Regions from separate parts of the Homo sapiens genome. Here regions 1 and 3 are each linked to region 2. Evidence: promoter capture Hi-C in 16 types of primary human blood cells and fetal thymus (Javierre and others, 2016). All regions are on one chromosome and are shown on one strand. Each heading gives the region's core, a stretch centred on a gene start or on the middle of the fragment in contact. The rest is flanking DNA. Distances are from core to core; before and after follow the strand shown. Region 1 overlaps REPS2 (RALBP1 associated Eps domain containing 2). Region 2 holds the start of RBBP7 (RB binding protein 7, chromatin remodeling factor). Region 3 overlaps REPS2 (RALBP1 associated Eps domain containing 2).

Region 1 (3,834 bases), core at 618-3,117, 190 kb before region 2:
GTGACTTTTCTTTATGTCTTTTTCCCATGAGTAGAAATCTGAGGAAAGTACCATGGAGGACACAACTCAAAGAAAGAGAAGCAAAATGGCAGAGAGATGTTAGTCAGAGGGGCACTGGAAAGGCAGGCTTGACTGGCTCACAGGGGAGCAGACGGTGCCATCCATAACACATGCTACAGGCATGAGGGCCTCATGTGAGAGAATAAATCATCATGCACAGTCACAAGAAATTAAAGAAATGTCCCTGTTCCCTGACTTTGACTTCTATCATCTTGCAGTGGTTTCAACTAGGGTCAGAGGACTCTAATAGTCTCTGACTATTATGGAGTCTGTGAATAAAGCTCCATTTATTAAACATTTCCAGATCTTTTAAGGAAGGGAAAAGCAGGTATCCTAAATTGTCATCACAGTAATCATAATGGTGATGATGATGATAATGACAATGGTGATGACAACAATAACTATAACAACTCCTATTTATTGATCCATAGCTAAGGCTTCCTAAGCACTTGGCTAAGCCCTTCCATCCATGGCCCAACACTGGGGGAATTCTCCAAGTTCCTTCTGGGGATCATCCAAATCAGTCCTCATTTGGTTCAAAAGCTAAAAACCCTGAGGGAGTTCCGAATGTGATTTGGGGCCCTCATATAAAGTTCTCAAACCTCTTCTCAAAACAGTTCTGATTCAGTATAGCTTATTAATGCCCAACTGATAAAAATAGAATCAAAATTGTTTACTAGGGAATTAAAGCTTGGTTAAAGTAAATAACTTGGCTAGAATTTTCTGTCTTAGTTTGGCTATATCTACATTTCACATCTAGAAGGTCTAGAGATTATGTTACTTACTTTACCACATCCAGTTTTAGGGAGAAAAGGGAAAAAAATTATAGATACATCTGGTGTCTAGATCTGAAAGGCTGAGCATCAAAGTATTAATAATTACCAAGTATGAAAAGGAAATGTTATAAAAGCTCATTTTCAAACAAAAAAAAAGTTCATTTTCCAGAATTTGTAAAGAACATAGGCCAATGGATTTAGCTCCATACACATCCTTATTTATTAGCATATGAAGATCTTTTACCTCCATCCGATTCAAGTCACGAGGTTGTTGATTTGCCGGCAGTGACTCAGAATAAGAATCAAATAATTGACAGTCCCATTTGGGCTTAGGAAAAGCTAAGAAGAAACAAAAAGAATATATCAGAATATTTCCTATAGCCATAGTAATCAGTGTTTCCCATCAGCTTTTCTGTGCTTGTTAAATATAACAACAAAATCAGCTAGCTCTGATAGACCACATATGGCATTCATCATGCTGAGGTAGTACTTTCAGTTCTTTATATGGACAACCCAGTACTTCTATTATCCCCATTTCACATGTGATGAAACTGAGAACAGGGCAACTTACTCAAGGTCATACAGCTGATAAATGGAAGAGCAGGGACTTGAACTCTCAGCAGTCTGGCTGAAGGGTATGTGCTCTGAACACTTCATGTTATAGCATAGTAATTTTCCACAATAACCATCACTATCACAATATGTAAGTCTTAACTATGTTACTAGTGTAGTTTCTAATGTATAGGGACATTAACTAAGGAAATACATCATTTAACTATTGTTAGAAATAGGCAAGATCTTATAATGATGTGCACCCAACATGATTTTACGAAATATTTATCTCCTTGGTTGGCAGGAATGATAAAAATAAGAGCATAAATTCTTGCTGATTTACAACAAAGAAAAAAAGAATCACATTAAGGGTTTCTTTCAATATGCAATAGTGACACTGGCTGTTATTTCGGTAGTTGAGTGAATTCACACGAGGAAAGATCAGGCTACTTGGTAAGCTAATTACTTCACACCAGGCTATGTCTTAGAAGCGGATTCTGCTTCACTACTTTGTCACAAAGTAATTAGGAAAGAAATATCTCAACAGCTAGAAAATTTGTCAATATTCCAAAGAGGAAAAGCAGACTGTGGCAGATAATAAACAGAAGCTACAAATCAAATTTGTCACAACAAGCTATTAGGAAATAAAATTGTAATGCAAGGTTTAAAAAAATTTGAATCAAATGTGAAAAGTGGATTGGCATTGTTTTTAATCCTTCCCCACCCTCCCACTCCCATCAGGGACTGAAATGCCAATATCCTTCTGCAGTAAAGTACTGGCCATTGGCCAGGCATGGTGGCTCACACCTGTAATGACAGCACTTTGGGAGGCCAAGGCAGGAGGATTGCTCGAGCCCAGGAGTTTGAGACCAGCCTGGGCAACATAGTGAGACCCTGTTTCATCTGTCTTTGTATCTACCTACCTACCTACCTACGTGTCTATCTAATTTAAATAAATACATACATGCATACATACATACAGTAAGTAAGTAAGGAAGTACTGGTCTGAGTATCAGCACCACATGGAGTTGAGTACAAGCACCTTAATTTGTTCATTTGCTTACTCTGGTCTGAATTTCACCGATTTCTCTTTCTAGTCTATCAATCAAGGCTCTGACTGGTATTATATGACTGATGCTTTATCATGAGCGGATCTTCCTGTGAAGAAAGCTAACACTTTCCAAAACTATAATTTTGTCAATTACCTGCTAAATCTCTCTCCAAGGTGTCCACATCTCTCCATATCACTGTCACCTCCCCATTGCAAGCACCCCGCTGCTCCTGACTGGCCAGCTACCACAACTTAGTCTTCTGGTTTCTACCCGTGCCCCTCAAAACCTGTTCTCTGGACAGTAACCTGCATGATCATTTCACATAGCAAATCTGATTGTGTCACTTATCTGCCTAAAATAAGGTGACATTATTGCCCGTCATATGTTCCCCACCTTCTTCCTCAGCTTCAACCCAGCCTCTCTACCCCGGTTCTGTGCACGCCAGCCACTGTGGCCTGAAATTCCCACTCCTCCTATGCTCCAAGCCCCCTCTCAGAGCCTCCCCAGCATACCTGCTGTTCCCCCTTCCCAGAACCTAAGCTTCTCTCTTCTTCACCTATGTAGTCCTTAGCTCAGCCTTCACATCTCAGCCCAAACGTTTAAGGAAATCTTCCCTAAGATCATGCACCCTCTTGCTGCACCTGTACTTCCCCTTCATGGCACGTATCAACTGCCCACAAGTTCATGGGAGTAGGAGCTCTGTCATACAGCATTCTGACCACAGTGAACAATGTGGTACCTCTCACGCAGTAAGTACTCCATAGGTATTTTTTAACAAACTCTATGGCAAAAATTTCTACCAGAACCCACCCAATCACCTATCAAAAGGTGACTTTTTTTATTTTTTTATTTTTATTTTATTTTATTTTTGAAATGGAATCTCACTCTGTCACCCAGGCTGGAGTGCAGTGACGCAATCTCGGCTCACTGCAACCTCTGCCTCCCAGGTTCAAGCAATTCTCCTGCCTCAGCCACCCGAGTAGCTGGGGACCACAGGTGCACGCCACCGCACCTGGCTAATTTTTGTATTTTTTGGTGGAGACAGGGTTTCACCATGCTGCCCAGGCTGGTCTCAAAATCCTGACCTCAATTGATCCTCCTGCCTCAGCTTCCCAGAGTGCTGGGATTACAGGCGTGAGCCACCCCACCCAGCTGAAACTATCAAAAGGAGACTTTTGATGAAACTATCAAAAGGAGACTCTTGATGAAACTATCAAAAGGAGACTCTTGATGAAACTATCAAAAGGAGACTTTTGATGAAACTATCAAAAGGCTAGCGGGTAAGCCACCAACTAATACAACTCTGTCCTTGAAGTTTTACTATTAGGGAAAAGGGACTATTTCCATAATTGCAAGTAAAATGGCATCAGATACAATTCCTGTTCCATTATTTT
Region 2 (3,640 bases), core at 354-2,853:
TGAAAACGATTTTAGTGTCTGTAGTTTTATCGGAACGCAGCCAAATGCATCCATATTTTCCATGGCTGCTTTGCGCTGCAAAGCGACAGAGTCGAGCAGTTGCCCCCAAAGCCTAAAATATTTACTATCTCGGTCCTTTTAGAAAAAGTCTTGCCAACTAATGTCCTAGAATATGAGGGCTGTATTGCTTAAACACCCTTCCAACTCTCTTCCCTCTCTAGCCACCCCCTCAGCCTTAGGCACTAACAAGATTCCTTGACCCAGAATGGGGGGAGGGCGTTATAATAATGAACGGTATTGTATCGGAAACAACACAGTAAATATCTACAGAAGGGAATGTGACTGGTTCTGCCACTGACTAACGTCTGGGTTTGCGTCCCGGTCAGAAAAGTGGGCATGACAGCGGCATCTGCAAGATAGCATCTGAGCATGAAGGCACTTGGAAAGGTATCAAGGCAGCAAATGTTCCGGGGGTGCTTTTGCAAGAGGAGCCTCTCCCGGAGCTGGACGTACACTTCGGTTCCCTTTGCACGCAGGCACCTTGGTCGCCTCCCCCAACTCCGTCCCCTCTGCTCCTGGCCCTCATTTTCTTCTATTTCCCTTTTGGCCTTGCAGCCAGCTTTCTCCTCCCCCGACACACTCCTCAGGGGCTATGAAGTTCCTGAGCAGAGCAGGGCTCAGGTAAGCAGGCCCAGGGTAGTTCAGCCCTGCTCTCTCCAGCTCCGCCAGCTTGGGGTGGGGTCGCGCTGGGACCCCTGCAGGTGACAAAAATGACTCAGCAGGGGCCGGGGCTGGGATGAGAAAGGAACGCCAGTGCAGGGACAAAATCCCCTGAAGCGCGAAGAGGCCGCAAACCATCATCTTAAGGACCCAAACATCGAACAAATTAAAATGTAACAGTGTAAATCGGCTTCGGCCCGCCGGCGGCCTGTGCCGCCACAGGCTGCACATTTAGCCTAACAGGGCGGCCCGGCGGCTTTTGCAGGCAGAAAACGCCCGCGGCCTCTCCAAAAGCTCTCCTCCGTCTGAGACCAGCCCCACCTCGGCCCGACCGGGCCCCAGGAAAGGCCAGTCGGCTGGAGGAGAACATTTCAGGGGTGCAGAGAATTGCATGTCCGTGATTATCAGGGAGACTTTGAAGGCACAGTAATCTCTCGAGAACAGGAACCATTTTCCCCTCTTGCTCTGAGATTTTGCTTGGCTAAGCGGCGGCAGCCTCCCTGCCCCCCTCTCACCCCCACCACCGCTGCCGCTACAAGCAACCACGCCCCGCGGGCCCCAAGGCTCGCCGCCCCGGGGCTCGCGGCCCCCACTCAGCCGGCCAGCCGCGCCTCCATCAGCCCCGCCCTCGCGCGCCCCCATCCGCCCCGCCCCCTCGGGCCCTCATCCGCCCCGCCCCCGCGCGCCCCATCCGCCTCCGCGGCCGGCCCTGGGAGCGCCGGGCGAGCCCTCGCGCCTGCGCATCGCCAACTTCCTGCCGCGGCACGCTCCGCCCACCCCCAGAAGCCCGCCTCCGAACGCCGCGTGAAACCCGCCCGCCGCGCGTCATTGGTCTCGGCGCCGGAGCCGTTGGCTCCCAGACCCGCCTCTCCGCCTCCTCTCACTTTTCCCAGGGCGGATGCGCCTGCGCTCAGCTGCCTGGGCGGGCTGGGAGGCGCGGGTTGAAAAGTCTCGTTCCAAGTTTGGAGAGAGAGAGAAGAGCGCCTCAGACCTCGGTACCCGCGAGCGGGGAGGAGGCAGGAAAGAAGGACGCGGCGTCTGGGGAGCACCCAGGCAGCAAGACGGGGCCCGGGCTTTCGACAGTGGGGAGTGTGACGCGCTTGGGAAAGGCAGGAGCGCCAGCGGTCGGGCTGCTCTTGGCTAACGAGAGGAGTCCGAGGCGGCGGCGAGGGGCGAACGACCCGACGCAAGATGGCGAGTAAAGAGAGTAAGAGGCCCTGCGGGGCGGCGCGCGCCGGGGCCGCGGGGGGCGGCGGGCGCGCGAGGCCGCGGCACGCGCCGGCGAAAGGCGCGAATTGGCGTGCGGAGCAGGGGGCGGGGCCGGGCGCGAGACTGGGCGCGCGCCTCGAGGGGCCTGCGCGGGACGGGACCGCCGCGCCGAGGGCTCCGAGCACTTCCGGAGCCGGGCGCGGGGCCGAGGGCTGGGCCCCCCTCTTCCCTTCCCTCCTCCAGCGGCTGCGCTCCCTCCGGCGCCCTCGGCCCCGGGGCGGAGGCGGCCCCCGCCGCTGGGAAGCGAGCGCCGCGGCTCTTTCTACGCGCGCGCGCGCGTTGACCGCCTCGGGGTCGCGGCCCTTGTCCGGGGGTTGCTGGGGTCCTCAGGCCTATGGCTGCCGAGGCGGGCGTCGTGGGAGCTGGGGCCTCCCCTGATGGGGATTGGAGAGACCAGGCCTGTGGGCTTCTGCTACACGTGCATTTGTCTTCCCGACTGGGTCGCGCAGCCCCTGTACGTACAGGTCGTCATCTTAGAACAGGTGCGAACAGCTGTAACAGGGTAAACAATTTCCATGTCCGTGTAATTGACTACCCAACATGGTGTACGCAGGGGGTATTGATCTCAATGGAAAAAATAGGCTTCCTGATTGTTAGTATTTTCTCCACCTTCTGGAAGAGCAGTTAGTTGTCCGTGTCCAAATTAGAGGTAAAAGGAAAGAGTACATGAGGTGTGGCCATCTTGAGGTGACCTCCAATTTCTGACTTTGATCTATCTCAGCCACTTAATCGTGTGGGCTTTCTCCAAATTTCAGTGTTTGAAGATACTGTGGAGGAGCGTGTCATCAATGAAGAATATAAAATCTGGAAGAAGAATACACCGTTTCTATATGACCTGGTTATGACCCATGCTCTTCAGTGGCCCAGTCTTACCGTTCAGTGGCTTCCTGAAGTGACTAAGTAAGGGTTTCTGGCAACTTTTATTTTGTTTAAATTTAACTGTCGTTCTGAATTTCCTAGTTTTGGCGTTTTATGCATAGAACATAAGTATGTAATCAGCCCTTGCATGAGGTGGCAGGTGGTTTTTATTTTCAAAACTTACGTGATTTGTGGGATGATTTCTGGTGTATAGTGTGGTGGTAAAAGGGGAGAAAGAAGCTGTTGTGAGATTAATCGTGTTTGGAGGAAGCACTGAATATATTTGACATTTCCTGGGCTTGAATGTAGAGCAGCATCTTTCTGGGCCCAAACTAATGCGTTTCTTTAAAACTTTACTGAAAAATAGAATATTTACGGAAAAGTTCACACATCTTAAGTGTTGTATGGCTTGATAAATTTTTACAAAGTGAACACACGTAACAGTCATCCAAGATAAATACATTTTAATTGGTAAAGGGAAAAAGACCTTGTCAACAATTGACCAAAGAAAAGATGTTATCGGCTTATGGAATACACTTTGAGATTGCTGTTAGTCTTCATAAGAGTATTCTTTTCTGTTACATCTGCAGTTTCTCTGGTAATAATTGCTGGCATTTATTGAGCACTCAGAACAGGGCCTGGCACATCTGAAGAATCTACGTCCTGTTGTTTGTTGTAATCCTCATAATAGTACTATGCTGTAGGTACTTTTCATCATCCTTGTTTTACTGATAAGGAAACTGGGAGTGAGAGTTTAAGTGCCATCCCAAGATCACACAGCTGGTCCCTGCAT
Region 3 (3,778 bases), core at 928-3,427, 130 kb before region 2:
TTGAAGACTAATACCTTAATCTGACATTAGTAAACAGCCTTATTTACCTTGAAATCTGTCCCTTGGTCCCATATCACCACTAGAATCATTGCTTTGGAGCCAAAGTAGAATATATACACATAAGTGAGTTAAGCCCATAGGTTACTTTCCTTGCTCTTTGTACACCAAACCTCCAAGAGACATACCAAGAACGTTCTGAAATAGTCAAGCCTCAAGGAAGAGAAAAGAATTATAAGCCTTTGGAACTTACACATGGACTTCTGAATCAAAAAAAAAAAAAAAAAGGTTAGTTCTGAAAGGTTTTTTTCATTCATCAAGGTTCAAAGTTTTCTAAGTTTAAAATCTCCATGGAAAAGCTGTAAGTTGTGGGTCGAAATGCTTAATGGTATCTAAAGAAAATAAGGTGAAAAAAAAAGTTTATCCCAGATACTCAATTAGTGGAGATATTTGATATAATTGATCCTTCAAACAATCCAAATCACTGGGCTTTCCTCAAAATAAAGGGGAAAAAAATGAAAAGATTCCACTCCTCTTCTTTAGTCTAAACTCCAAACCTGTAACACTCCCAGCTGGATCCAACTCCCAGCTGGATCCATCTTAGGTTACACATTGTGCAAATTCCTAATACAGAATAAGAACCTATGGAGTAGTGTTTTCTCAGGTGGAAGGCAAGAGATGAAAAAAAGAAATAGATTAAATCAACTTCCTTACAGCTTACGGATGTACACTAAATGGCTGGGATGCTGGATACAAATCAGAAAAATTCACCGACCATTTGGGAGAAATCTGAACAAAGTTCTGGAAGAAGGTTGAAGGCCACTAACATAGCTTCCCTCCTACCTAATTCTATAAGATTAGGCGACTGTGCTGAGTAACCATGTTCCAGTTTGCCTGAAATAATACTTTCTTTCCTGGCTGAAATGTAATACATTTTCAGAACTGTTCAAAGGTTTAAATAAGCTTCTCTCAAGTATTATTAAAGGTTTCCTTAGAAAGATTTGAAAATGTAAAAACTCCTAGTAGGAGGGGCTGGAAGAATTCTCCAAGAGCACCCCATTTTCTACTCTCCCTCTGCTGCAGCTAGCAAAATCCAGATTCTTTGCTCTCGCCTCGACTGTTTCAAGTCCTGTCTCCAGACTCACACACCTTCACACACCAGCTTCTACATTCCCTCCGTGACCTCTTATCAAAACCACATCACCCTCCAACTTCAAAGGGCTTCTGGGACTCTTCACGCCCTTCCTGTGAAACCAAGCATGGCTTCTGAGGCCCTCCTGTCTGGCCCAAACTACCTTTCCAACATCGTCATGTCTCTCTCCTCCCCACCCTACAGCTAATTAAGACTTTAGTCACACCAGATGCCCATTTCTTTGCCTGCCAGGCTCATTCTTCAAGTCACCTCAAGACCAACCTTATCTTTGAAACTGTAGTCAATTCCACATGGCATGTTCTCTGCATTCCCATAACACTTTTTACTAGCTTTCTAACACATCCCTAGCCTTGCAACACAGCACAATTGGTATTTTGATAATTATCTCCACTGTAGCCCATCTCCTTTCCCTATGCCCTAAGTGCCCAGCAGAAAGCGAGGGTATATTCTTATTATTTGTATCCCCCAGGACTCATACTTTACTATGCCTGCTATATGCTCAGTAGCTCAATAAATAAATGTTGAATTAGTCTTCACAGCCTGTTGCATCAGAATCTTTCTTCTTCCCCTCCATTTTTATTACTTTTACAAGTAGCTGCTAAATTGGCTTTAGTCATCTCACACCATATAGCCATAAGAGTTCCTGCAGGAATATAAGAGAATATTAATTTCTCTGTTCCCTTCCTGCTCAGCTAAGAGGGTACCGGTTAGGATCAAGGCATAAGGAAAGGCATCCACCATTCTTTATCCTGGCCCTAGCCCTCATAGCCCAGGAGAATACCTCAGTGATGCTCCAGCCAGTCAGAACTCCAGAGATGCACCTCCTACTCAGCACAGCCCCAGGAGGTGTCAACCCTCCCCAAGTGGGCAAACTCAGCAACAGAAATACAGAAGAGAATCTGAAGTACATGCTTACAAATTGTACCTCAGCCTCTCAGGGAACAGCTGAACACGCAGGTCAACCTCTATGCTGGGTTTTCCTTTCCCATTCATTTATACTGTAACATTCAAGAGAGACTTTCAGTCCAGAGGGACATGGGTGAGCTACTCAAGAAAACATGAACCCCCATATCTGATTACCCAACATTAGGCATTATAGTATATGCCTAAGCCAAATGACACTGCTAAAGAGAGGGCAGACAGGCAGTGCTGAGGTGTGATTTCAGAGAATCCTACTAAAACCTTAAAGTACTTGTTAGTTTAACAAGTTTTGGTTGGGCACCTCCCTATCAAAAGCAATGTGCTGAGTGCTATGCTAAGAACTGAGCAGCAATGCACAGAATCACCTATTCTACATACACACAAACTCACACACATTCTCTCTCTCCCTCCCTCCTTCCCTCCCATTTTGCCAAACCATCTGAAAAGTGGGTTACAGACACACCTCATGACACACCACCCCTAAGTACTTTACTATTCACCTTCTAAGAACAGGGATATTTTCGTACACCACCGCACCATCATCACCACACCCAAGGAAATCAACTTTAACACAATATTATCATACAACATGATATGGTTTGGCTGTGTCCTCACCCAAATCTCAACTTGAATTGTATCTCCCAGAATTCCCACGTGTGTGGGAGGGACTTGAACAATTAGGGGGAGGTAATTGAATCACGGGGATCGGTCTTTCCCATGCTATTCTTGTGATGGTGAACAAGTCTCATGAGATCTGGTGGGTTTATCAGGCGTTTCTGCCTTTGCTTCTTCCTCATTTTTCTCCTGCCACCACCATGTAAGAAGTGCCTTTTGCCTCCTGCCATGATTCTGAGGCTTCCCCAGGCATGTGGAACTGTAAGTCCAATTAAACCTCTTTTTCTTCCCAGTCTCGGATATGCCTTTATCAGCAGCGTGAAAATGGACTAACATACAACATATGGTCCACATTCACATTCCCTTGATTATCCAGAAAATGCCTACAGAGCTGAATTTTCTTTTCCTCATCCAGGATTTAGTCAATGTTCATGCACTGCATTTTTATCTCATTTTCCCTTAGTCTCCCCCTAATCTAGAACAATCCCCCTTGGTTCTTAATGACACTGAATCATTTAAGAATCCAGGCCAGTTGTCCTCAGAACATCCCATGTTTTGGATTTGTCTGTTTTATTGTGATTACATTAAAGTCAAAAGTTTCTGGCAAGAACACCACACAGGTGATACTGAGATATAGTGAGAGGTACACAGCAGTGAGGGGCACACAATGTCAGAACATCCCACCATTGGTACTGATTGCAAAGCTTGGTCATTTGATTAATGTGGTGACTGCCAGATCTCTTCATTGCAAAGCTATGTTTTTACATTGTACTTTAAGACCATGTGAGTGTTCTATCCCTTGAAAAGTCAGCTTTAAAATCAGTTAAATACTAATTTTCTAGGTAAGTCTAGCTAAATCATATCAGCATCTACAGAACTAGAATACTAATGCAAAATCACAAAGATGGGGGTAATATTTTTTCCATGAGATAGGTGTCATTACACTCAGTTTATACACAAATAAACCTTCCCAATTCAGAAAGTTAAGTGATATGTTCAAGGTCACAAATTCAGAGCCAGTACTCAAACCTACATGCATCCAGGTCCAAAGCTCATGGTCTTTCCATTACATCAGTGGTTGGAAAACTACCG

What was found. Contacts are between HindIII fragments. The CHiCAGO score rates a contact against its expected background, and 5 or more counts as called.
Region 1: a fragment that was not itself captured here is called in contact with the fragment with the promoter of RBBP7 in region 2 in 5 of 17 cell types (M1 macrophages, naive B cells, erythroblasts and 2 more); the score reaches 6.9 in M1 macrophages.
Region 3: a contact is called between a fragment that was not itself captured here and the fragment with the promoter of RBBP7 in region 2, in 1 of 17 cell types (neutrophils). The highest score is 5.5, in neutrophils.

Annotation. Positions count from the first base shown.
Region 1 is chrX:17,059,779-17,063,612 of GRCh38, reverse strand. REPS2 (RALBP1 associated Eps domain containing 2) reads right to left here. Exons shown (of 18, transcript NM_004726.3): 9 at 1,081-1,175. Among named protein-coding and RNA genes, the nearest start is that of REPS2, 120 kb to the right of the region's middle. The HindIII fragment of the contact is 2,230 bases long and covers 753-2,982 here.
Region 2 is chrX:16,868,325-16,871,964 of GRCh38, reverse strand. It overlaps RBBP7 (RB binding protein 7, chromatin remodeling factor), which reads left to right and starts at 1,603. Exons shown (of 12, transcript NM_002893.4): 1 at 1,603-1,927; 2 at 2,745-2,889. The coding sequence starts at 1,912. RefSeq lists enhancers at 909-1,587, 2,597-2,686 and silencers at 1,327-1,636, 1,967-2,016, 2,037-2,376. The HindIII fragment of the contact is 7,607 bases long and covers 1-3,640 here.
Region 3 is chrX:17,000,920-17,004,697 of GRCh38, reverse strand. All of the region lies in intron 1 of REPS2 (RALBP1 associated Eps domain containing 2), which reads right to left. Among named protein-coding and RNA genes, the nearest start is that of REPS2, 56 kb to the right of the region's middle. The HindIII fragment of the contact is 2,430 bases long and covers 963-3,392 here.